Linked DNA regions of Homo sapiens: region 1 is linked to region 2. The links are contacts of gene promoters, found by promoter capture Hi-C in blood cells and fetal thymus (Javierre and others, 2016). All regions are on one chromosome and are shown on one strand. The core of a region is centred on a gene start or on the middle of the fragment in contact, and the rest is flanking DNA. Distances in the headings are between cores, read along the strand shown.

Region 1 (5,156 bases), core at 2,161-4,660, 310 kb before region 2:
ACCTTGTTCCCCTTGCCTCTGGAGCTCCCAACCTTACCTCTTGCCGGTGATAAGAGGTGTTTAGGAAGCCGTGATAGCGCTGCCGCAGGGCCTGGCCCAGTTCCCAGTGCTGTAGCATCCCCTCCTGTGGGCAAACCCAAGGGTTAAGAGGGTCTAGAGGGAAGGGGTGGCTTCAAGCCCCATGGGGTTTAGGCCCTGTTGCTTTCCAGGTTCACGCTTTGCTGGAGTCAATTAATCTGATCCCAGAAGTCTTTCATTAAGTGGCCAGTCATGCACAGCAATATCATGGGCACAGAGATTAAGGTTATGAAATCTGGTCAAAGTCAGCACCCATATGGGAAAAGGCAGTTTAGTAGGACCCCAAGTTTTGTAGACTGCTCTAGACGTCGCTCATTCTGCAGCTCATCCTGAGGAAAGGCTGGCTTCTGACCCACCTTGGTTAACTGACCAAACCCCTGGGGCCATTCTTCTTCCTGATAGGGGTCCTTGGGATATGTCTTCACTGGTGAACGGTCTCCATGGCGGTACAGCTGAGAGAATAAAATGGTTTGCCTATAGGTCAGAAGCATCCCCTTGATAGGGACCCAGAGCCTACCTTTTGCCCCATGTTAGGGAAGGAAGTCTCATTCCCTCTGGGAAGCCTACTGGCTGCAAAAGACCCCAGCTAGGAGTCAGTCACTTCTTCCAGATTCCAGAGATTCTAACTTAGCTAAGCAATGCTACTGGAGACCATAGGCAAAGCCAAGGTACAGGTAGGAAGGGAAAAGAGAAGTGAAAGCAACGTATGTGGTGGGGACAACTGGGGAAAAAAGATAACCAAAGGCTTCTTTAGGGATGAGTCTTAACCATTCAACCACTTCCCTGTCTCAAGGCAGACTCACCCCGACGTATTCGGTCATCCTGACTCCCATAAGCCAGGGCTCCAGGTCAATCCTGAATCCAGCCTCCCAACTACCCAGGCCAGTCGTCCCCTCCTAAACCAGCTGTTCCTTCCCGAGATCCTCGACCTCCACCAGCTGGCCTTTGCCCTTTTAGCTTCAGGGAAGTCTTTGGTGAGCCCATCTCTCATTACCAAGGTAACGAAGCGCAGACTCCGGGCCCGGGTGGGCGGCATCACCACCAGGTTCACGCCGAGAAGGAGCTGGAGGAGAGCCGCCCGGCTCCAGCCGGACCGCTTGCCCGCCATCACCGTTGTAATCTATGCAGCAAACAAGCTGGAACCCGCTGGGTGGCACCTGCAAGCAGCCGCCCGGACGCACCCGTAAGGACACACGCCGGAAGTGCGTTCGCCGCCATCTTACTTAGGGACCTGCTGGGGTGCGGGGAAAAGGCGCAGTCTCGGTGGGATTGCGTGCAGGAGGGTCGTGGTCTGGCTGTGGCGGAGGAGCATAAGAAGGTAACGCGACCTGGCGCGGCAGACAGGGCTCGAAGACCTCATCTTGATTAAGAAGGCCACAAATTCGCGTTTGCCTCTGCTCGGAGAAATCCCTTACCAAGGTGGCACTTGCAGTGGGCGGGACCATGTCTGGAGAACCAGCGTCCCCTCCAGGCTTGACCCCATAGCTAGATCGGGTGCAGAATTGAGGCGAGGGATGGGAAAGTAGAGGTCGCTTCTCTCCACGCCCCTGCCTTTGTGGGGAGATTGAGCCCTGGCCCTGTTCTCCAGGAGATGTTTTGCTTGGGGTGCAGGACACAGTATGTAAACAACCCTTTGGACTCCGTGTGTCCTTGAGGTTGCCCCAGTCTGGCCTACCGTTCCTGCCCTGCACAAAGCTTCAGTAGCCCTCTCACTTTCCCTTCCAGTCCTTTCCCTGTCCTCCCTCCCCTCCACTTCCAAGTTTTAGTTAATTAGAGTCAAGACGTCATGTCATGCCTCTTCCCAAAGGAGTTGGGTTGCACAGGATGTTCAGACTTTACAAACCCAAAGCACTGAATCCCTGGGGGAGGAATTTCAGACCAGTGGGGAGGTATTTTGAGGTAAGGGACAGGCGCATATCATAAAGTGGGAGTAGGTGGGGTTTCCACAGAATCAATGGCCCTCTTGGCATTGACCATTAGGATTCAGGTGCAGCCAGTTTGGCCTCAGGACTTTGTGACTCCTGTGACGGTTGCAGGTCAGATCATAGGTCCTGGGGATGCTTTGATTCAGATCTGCCTACTGGAAGCAAATCTCCTCAGATCTTTGGGAAACAAAACTGATCAGGCTTGGCCTGGGCGCCGTGGCTCACCTGTAATACCAGCACTTTGAGAGGCCGAAGCAGGCAGATCACCTGAGGTCAGGAGTTCGAGACCAGCCTGGCCAACGTGGCGAAACCCCGTCTCTACTAAAAATACAAAAAAAAAAAAATTAGCCGGGTGCAGTGGCGTGCTCCTGTAATCCCAGCTACTCTGGAGGCTGAGGCAGGAGAATCGCTTGAACTCGGAAAGCGGAGGTTGCAGTGAGCTGAGATCACGCCACTGCACTCCAGCCTGCGCGACAGAGTGAGACTGTCTCAAAACAACAACAACAAAAACCTGATTAGGCTTGGTGTGGTGGCTCACGTTTCTAATCCCAGCACTTTGGGAGGCCAGGGTGGGAAGATTGCTTGAGCCCAGGAGTTGGAGACCAGCCTGAGCAGCTTAGGAAGATCTCCTCTCTACAAAAAAAAGTTTAAAAATTAGCTGGGTGTGGTGGCACACACCTGTGGTCCTAGCTCCTCGGGAGGCTGAGGTGGGAGGATCACCTTCAGCCCAGGAGGTTGAGGCTGCAGTGAGCCATGATGGTGCAACTGCACTCCAGTCTAGATGACAGAGCAAGACTGTGTCTCAAAAAGAAGAAAAGAAAAAAAAAGATCAGGATTATCTGTCTTTATTTTGTCCTAGGACTCCAGATTCAATTATTTATATATACTTCAGGATTTAAACTTTGCTTCCAGAGTTGTCATGGAGGAGGCCAAGAAGCAAATAGAGTAAGAGCCAAAGCCTGGGTAGCCAAACAGTTCTTAACCTTCTTATTTAATCACAAGCCCCTTTATGAATCACATGAAAATTTTGCACCTCTCCTCCAGAAAAATGTTCACACATATAAACACACACATGGAATTTTGCATATAATCCCAAATGGTTCACAAAGACCATTTATTACAGGTTTCATAAATCAGCATCTCTGAATACCTGATTTAACCTAGTCCTCTTACTTTACAGCTTAGGAAACAAACCTAAAGAGAGGAAGTGACTTGCCCAAATTCACAGTTTGGGCATGGGCACAGTTTGAGAATGGATTAAAAGTCAAGTTTTGGCCGGGTGCGTGCTCACGCCTGTAATCCCGGCACTTTGGGAGGCCGAGGCGGGTGGATCACGAGGTCAGGAGATCAAGACCATCCTGGCTAACATGGTGAAACCCCATCTCTACTAAAAATACAAAAAGTTAGCCGGGTGTGGTGGCAGGTGCCGGTAGTCCCAGCTACTCAGGAGGCTGAGGCAGGAGAATGTCGTGAACCCAGCAGGCGGAGCTTGCAGTGAGCGGAGATCGTGCCACTGCACCCCAGCCTGGGCGACAGAGCAAGACTCCGTCTCAAAAAAAAAAAGTCAGGTTTTGTGATTTTCAGTTAAATAGTCTATAATGGGCTGCTTCTTGCAGGCTACTCAAACTGCATTACTAAACTGTAATTGGTGATCCCGAAATCCTTTCAATAAAGAGGTATCTGTCAAAGGAAACCTTTTCAAATTAGTTGGACTAAACGGGACCTAGGCCGGACATGGCTCACACCTGTAATCCCAGCACTTTGGGAGGACGAGGCGGGTGGATCACCTGAGGTCAGCAGTTCAAGACCAGCCTGGCCACCATGGTGAAACCCCATCTCTACTAAAAATACAAAAATTAGCCAGTCGTGGTGGCGTGTGCCTGTAATCCCAGCTACCGGGGAGGCTGAGACAGGAGAATCACTTGAACCCAGGATACAGAGGCTGCCGTGAGCCGAGATTGTGCCACTTCACTCCAGCCTGGGCAACAGAGCGAGACTCTGTCTCAAAAAAAAAAATAAAATAAAGAGGGCTTGGGTAATTGGCAAAATGCTGCATATTAGTGGTAGTGGGAGGCAGTTGAGTGTTTTGTTTTAATGGGCCTCTTACTCCTTGCAAACTAGCCAGACCATTGTACTTTCAGAGTGTAAATCTTTGGCTCACCAAATTTCAGCTATCTCTCAAATTCAGCTTTTGCTTTTCTTCCCACTTGCTCAAATATGTCTATATTCTTTGTGCATGCAAGTATCCCACGTAGGAGGGATTGATGAAGCAGATACTATTTCAGTTTTTATAGGGAGAAACTATTCCAGGAAGGGTGGGGATTACAGCGCAAGTAGATAGTAGAGCCTGAAGCTGAGCCCTAGTTTCTTCACCCCTTTGCCTTCAGCTTTTGCATTTTCTGCCAGATGATTCTGTGGTTCTTACACTTTGGTTCGTAACTACAGGTGCAAAAAAAAAAAAGAAAAAAAAAAAACACATGTAGATAGATGGATATGTGGGCCTATCCCAGATCAAATAAATCAGAATCTCTGAAGGTGAGGACAGGAACCACTACCATATTCTGTGTTGGCAGAAGCAAACCTAAATCCAGGTATGTTAGCCATTTTTTTTCCATCTGAAGAGGCAGTTTTTGTTTTGTTTTGTTGTTGTTGTTGTTGTTGTTGTTGTTTTTGAGATGGAGTTTTGCTCTTGTTGCCCAGGCTGGAGTGCAATGGCGTTATCTCGGCTCACAGCAACCTCCGCCTCCCGGGTTCAAGCGATTCTCCTGCCTCAGCCTCCCGAGTAGCTGGGATTACAGGCATGTGCCACCACGCCTGGCTAATTTTGTATTTTTAGTAGAGACAGCTTCTCCATGTTGGTCAGGCTGGTCTCGAACTCCCGACCTCAGGTGATCTGCCCATTTTGGCCTCCCAAAGTGCTGGGATTACAGGTGTGAGCCACCGCACCCACCCGGCTGTTTTTTTTGTTTGTTTTGTTTTGTTTTTGTGACAGAGTCTCCCACTGTCGCCCAGGCTGGAGTGCAGTGGCACAGTCTCGGCTCACTGCAAGCTTCACCTCCCAGGTTCACGCCATTCTCCTGCCTCAGCCTCTCGAGTAGCTGGGACTACAGGCACCTGCCACCACACCTGGCTAATTTTTTTGGCTTTTTTTTT
Region 2 (5,270 bases), core at 972-3,471:
AGGGCAATGAAAATATTCTAAAATTAGGCTGGGTGCGGTGGCTCATGCCTGTAATCCCAGCACTTTGGGAGACCAAGGCGGGTGGAACACCTGAGGTCAGGAGTTCAAGAGCAGCCCGGCCAACATGGTGAAACCCCATCTCTATTAAAAACACACACAAAATTAGCCAGGCATGGTGGCGGGCACCTGTAGTTCTAGCTACTGGGGAGGATGAGGCAGGAGAACTGCTTGAACCCGGGAGGTGGAGGTTGCAGTGAGTGGAGATGGCGCCACTACACTTCAGCCTAGTCAATAGAAGGAGACTCCGTCTCAAAAACAAAATATAAAAAAAAGAAAATGAATCTTTTAAAACCACCAGATGGGCCGGGCATGGTGGCTTATGCCTGTAATCCCGGCACTTTGGAAGGCCGAGGGGGACGGATCTCCTCAGGTCAGGACTTTGAGACCAGTCTGGCCAACATGGTGAAACCCTGTCTCTACTAAAAATACAAAACTTAGCTGGGCGTGGTGGCAGCTACTCGGGAGGCTGAGGCAGGAGAATTGCTTGAACCTGGGAGGCAGAGGTTGCAGTGAGCTGAGATCACGCCATTGCACTCCAGCTTGGGTGACAAGAGTGAAACTCTATCTTAAAAACAAACAAACAAACAAAATCTCCACCAGATGCTTGGGCCGGGCGTGTGGCTCATGCCTGTAATCCCAACACTTTGGGAGGCTGAGGCTGGCAGATCACCATAGGTCAGGAGTTCAAGACTAGCCTGGCCAACATGGTGAAACCCCATCTCTACTAAAAATACAAAAAAAAAAAAAAAAAAAAAAAGAAAGCCGGGCGCGGTGGCTCATGCCTGTAATCCTGGCACTTTGGGAGGCCAGGGGGATGGATCACCTGAGGTCAGGAGTTTGAGACCAGCCTGGTCAACATGTTGAAGCCATCTCACTAAAAATACAAAACTTAGCTGGGCGTGGTGACATGTACCTGTAATCCCAGCTACTCGGGAGGCTGAGGCAGGAGAATTGCTTGAACCTGGGAGGCAGAGGTTGCAGTGTGCTGAGATCACGCCATTGCACTGCAGCTTGGGTGACAATAGTGAAACTCTGTCTCAAAAACAAAAAACAAAAAACAAAAACTCCACCAGATGCTTGGGCCGGGTGCAGTGGCTCATGCCTGTAATGCCAGCACTTTGGGAGGCTGAGGTGGGCGGATCACCTTAGGTTCGAGACCAGCCTGGCTGACAAGGTGAAACCTCGTCTCTACTAAAAACAAAAGTTAGCTGGGTGTGGTGGCATGCACCTGTAATCCCAGCTACTCAGGAGGCTGAGGCAGGAGAATCGTTTGAACCCGGGAGGCGGAGGTTGCAGTGAGCTGAGATCTTGCGACTGCCCTCTAGCCTGGGCAACAGAGTGAGACTCCGTCTCAAAACAAACAAACAAAAAGTAAATAGCTGGCATTACAACCATTCTTCTTACCTTTTTGTAGGTTGCAGGTTTTATATTTGAGCTCTTCATAATATTTTTCTTAAGGATATATTAATATAATGTATATTTTCCTATTTTTTCCTGCTATGTAAACACTGCTGTTTGGTCAGATGAAGGAGGGAGCCCTGCCCTAGGACAGGGGAGGGGAGGAGGAAGGCGACCTCAACCCAGGACCCCTGTTCACCCTGGGATCAGGCCCTCACCCAGGTAGCTCCTCTGTTTGAAAGCTCTAAGCCCTTCCACTGTCCTCTTCAGGGCTACCCCGCCACACAGCCTCTCCTTGTCTTGTCTTCCCTTTGGCGGGGTCACACCCGCACCTGGGTCACTGCCCCCTTCCTCTGGTCGAGGGTTGGGGGGAGTGTCCCCTCCTCCCTCGGCCGGAGTCACAGTTCCACACGCAGGGGTCCTTCCTGCCCCTCTCACCTGGGGTCACAACCCCCCTCCCTCGGAGGAGGGAGGTCACCGGCCACAGGCGGGGGCCTCAGTTTCCCACGCTACAGGGCTCACACGTGTCTGGCCTGCGACGCGCTCTCCCTTCGCCGGGGTCCCAGTTTCCCGCCCAGGAAACCTCGGTCCCTCCTCCGAGGCCGCCGGGCCCTCCTCCAGAGTCCCGCCAGTCCCCCAGAGTCCAGGCCAGTCCCCGCCGTCACCCGGTGCGAGCCCGCGAGAGGCCTAGTGCAGCTGGCAGCCCCGCCCCGGCACCCGCCTGCTCTTCTCGCGGGTCCGGACCGCGAGCGCGGGGGCCGACGGGTCGCCGCTGCGCCGGGCCGGGATGGCGGCCACCGCGCTGCTGGAGGCCGGCCTGGCGCGGGTGCTCTTCTACCCGACGCTGCTCTACACCCTGTTCCGCGGGAAGGTGCCGGGTCGGGCGCACCGGGACTGGTACCACCGCATCGACCCCACCGTGCTGCTGGGCGCGCTGCCGTTGCGGAGCTTGACGCGCCAGGTGAGCCGGGCCGGGGAGCCCGGGCCCCTGCCCCGTCCCCGCCGCTCCGTCCCTGTCGGGCCGCTGGGGTCTCCACCGTCTTTGCTGAGCCACCTCTTTGCCTCGGCAGCTGGTACAGGACGAGAACGTGCGCGGGGTGATCACCATGAACGAGGAGTACGAGACGAGGTTCCTGTGCAACTCTTCACAGGTGAGGGACCGGGCCGAGGGGCAGGCTCGGGGGCCCGCTCCCCCTCGCCCACCGCCCTGAGCCTGGGACGGCTAGAGAAGTGTGGGGGAGGTCACCATGCACCGGAGCCAGGTGTCTCAAGCTGCTTTGCCTCCGGTCTGTGCCTCTAAATGGCACCTGGAGGTAGGCTAGAAGCTGTGAAAGGCGTTTATTTAAAAGTTCAAGTTGGGCCGGGCGCGGGGACTCACGCCTGTAATCCCAGCACTTTGGGAGGCGGGAGGAGGAGGCGGGCAGATCACTTGAGCCCAGGAGTTCCTGACCAGCCTGGGCAACATGGCGAGGCCCCCGTCCCTACAAAAATACAAAAAGTAGCCGGGAGTGGTGGCGTGCGCCTGTACTCCCAGCTACTTGGGAGGCTAAGGCAGGAGAATCACTTTAGCCCGGGAGGTGGAGGTTGCAGTGAGCCGACATCTCGCCATTGCATTCCAGCCCAGCCTTGGGCGACAGGAGTGAAACAATGTCTCAAAAAAAAAAAAAAAAAAAGTGGAAGTTGACAAAGCCTGATTTCTCCTTTGTGAACAAATGTAATGTATTCTTATTTCGGTAACCAAAATCAGAAACTAAAATTGAAAGGCAACTTTCCCATGCCTTCCTGATTTCATTCATTCTTTCTATACTTTGAGCTCTGAGTATGGGTCAGCATTCCCAGTGTTAGGGATTCCAGATGAAGGCCCTGCCAACTGTAAGACGAAAAGCACCCCCTTAACACTCTCCCCTCCCCAGATTTTTCATAAAACTATCCATTGAAAACTGTAGAGTTCATTTGGCTCTGATTTGGGGGAATTTTTAGTCATATATTAGAAATCATGGTGGAACTCCAAAGTTCTCTCATAACAAAGTTTAGGCCTAAAACATAACTTTCATTAAATGTGACTGGCCTGTTTGTGGAATCTTCCACAATGGTTATTAGAAGATGTTATCTACAATCTGAGCTATTTGATTTTTTTTTAATGTTGCCCTATCTTTATAGCGTTTGGCATCTAATAGCACTAAACAATTATCTTTCTCATTTGTTTTACTGATATAGCATGATGAAGATACTATTATTTCAACCTGAGGATTTTTTTGAAACCTTGAAAATATTTGTGACTTGGCCAGGCGTGGTGGCTCTCACACCTGTAATCCCAGCACTTTGGGAGGCTGAGGTGGGTGGATCACCTGAGGTCAGGAGTTTGAGATCAGCCTGGCCAAAATGGTGAAACCCCGTCTGTACTAAAATCACACAAAAAAATTAGCCGGGCGTGGTGGCAGGCGCCTGTAATCCTAGCTACTTGGGAGGCTGAGGCAGGAGAATCGCTTGAACCCGGGAGGCAGAAGTTGCAGTGGGCCGAGATTGCACCACTGCACGCCAGCCTGGGCGACAGAGTGAGTCTCCGTCTCAAAAAAAAAAAAGAATTACTGATCTTCATTTAGAACCATAAAGTCTCTGATACTCATTATTAAGAGGTTAATAACAAGAGTAGCTGGAGCATATCTGAAGTCTTAAAGCATAAAGTTTGCCCAGTTGCCAGAGACCTTATTTCTATTTCTTTTCTTTTTTTTTTTTTTTTTTTGAGATGGAGTCTCACTCCCTTGCCCAGGCTGGAGTGCAATGGTGCAATCTCAGCTCACTGCAACCTCTGCCTCCCAGTTCAAGTGATTCTCCTGCCTCAGCCTCCCAAGTAGCTGGAATTACAGGTGCCTGCCAGCATGCCTGGCTAATTTTTGTATTTTTTATGGAGATAGGGTTTTGCCATGCTGGCCAAAGTCGTCTCGAACTCCTGACCTCAGGTGATCTGCCCACCTTGGCCTCTCAAAATCTGGGATTACAGGCGTGAGCCACCACACCTGGCCACCTATTTCTTCTAAGTGATAACATTGCACTAATGAAGGTCAGTGCATTGTTTTAATTTTATTTTTGTTTTTGTTTTTGAGACGGAGTCTTGCTCTGTCGCCTAGGCTGGAAGTGCAGTGGCACGATCTCGGCTCACTGCAAGCTCCGCCTCCTGGGTTCATGCCATTCTCCTGCCTCAGCCTCCCAAGTAGCTGGGACTACAGGCGCCTGCCACCATGCCCGGCTAATTTTTTTGTATTTTTAGTAGAGACGGGGTTTCACCGTGTTAGCCAGGATGGTCTAAATCTCCTGACCTCGTGATCCGCCCGCCTTGGCCTCCCAAAGTGCTGGGATTACAGGCATGAGCCACCATGCCCGGCCCATTGTTTTAATTTTAAAATGATAACCCTATTTTCTACCATATGTTCCCTCAAAAAACAGTGGTAAAAAAGAGACTTATGGACAGAGAAATAGAAAGCCTTGGCAAAATATTGTACCCCAAATCTGCAGCTGAATCACTACACAGGTGCCAAAATTATGCAAAAAAATTACACTGGCTGGGCCTGGTGGCTCATGCCTGTAATCCCAGCATTTTGGGAGGCTGAGACAGGAGGATGGCTTGAGGCTAGGAGATTGAGACCAGCCTGGGCAACATAGCGAGACCCCCATCTGCACACACACAAAAATAACAAAATTAGCCAGGCACAGTGGCATGCAGCTGTAGTCACAGCTACTTGGGAGGCTGAGGTGGGAGGACTGCTTGAGCTTAGGAGTTTGAGGCTGCAAGGAGCCATGATTGCATACCACTG

Evidence for each region. The method cuts DNA at HindIII sites, captures the fragments that hold promoters and counts their contacts. A CHiCAGO score of 5 or more calls a contact.
Region 1: a contact is called between a fragment that was not itself captured here and the fragment with the promoter of PTPMT1 in region 2, in 1 of 17 cell types (neutrophils). The highest score is 5.2, in neutrophils.

What each region holds. Positions count from the first base shown.
Region 1 is chr11:47,247,604-47,252,759 of GRCh38, forward strand. ACP2 (acid phosphatase 2, lysosomal) reads right to left here and starts at 1,211. Exons shown (of 11, transcript NM_001610.4): 1 at 1,073-1,211; 2 at 435-530; 3 at 38-124. The coding sequence starts at 1,186. It also overlaps a transcript of NR1H3 not described here. RefSeq lists enhancers at 677-766, 897-1,406 and a silencer at 1,487-1,654. The HindIII fragment of the contact is 3,279 bases long and covers 1,772-5,050 here.
Region 2 is chr11:47,563,378-47,568,647 of GRCh38, forward strand. PTPMT1 (protein tyrosine phosphatase mitochondrial 1) reads left to right here and starts at 2,222. Exons shown (of 4, transcript NM_175732.3): 1 at 2,222-2,419; 2 at 2,529-2,609. The coding sequence starts at 2,246. It also overlaps a transcript of CELF1 not described here. RefSeq lists enhancers at 1,733-2,233, 2,234-2,734 and silencers at 2,044-2,523, 2,654-2,733. The HindIII fragment of the contact is 17,352 bases long and covers 1-5,270 here.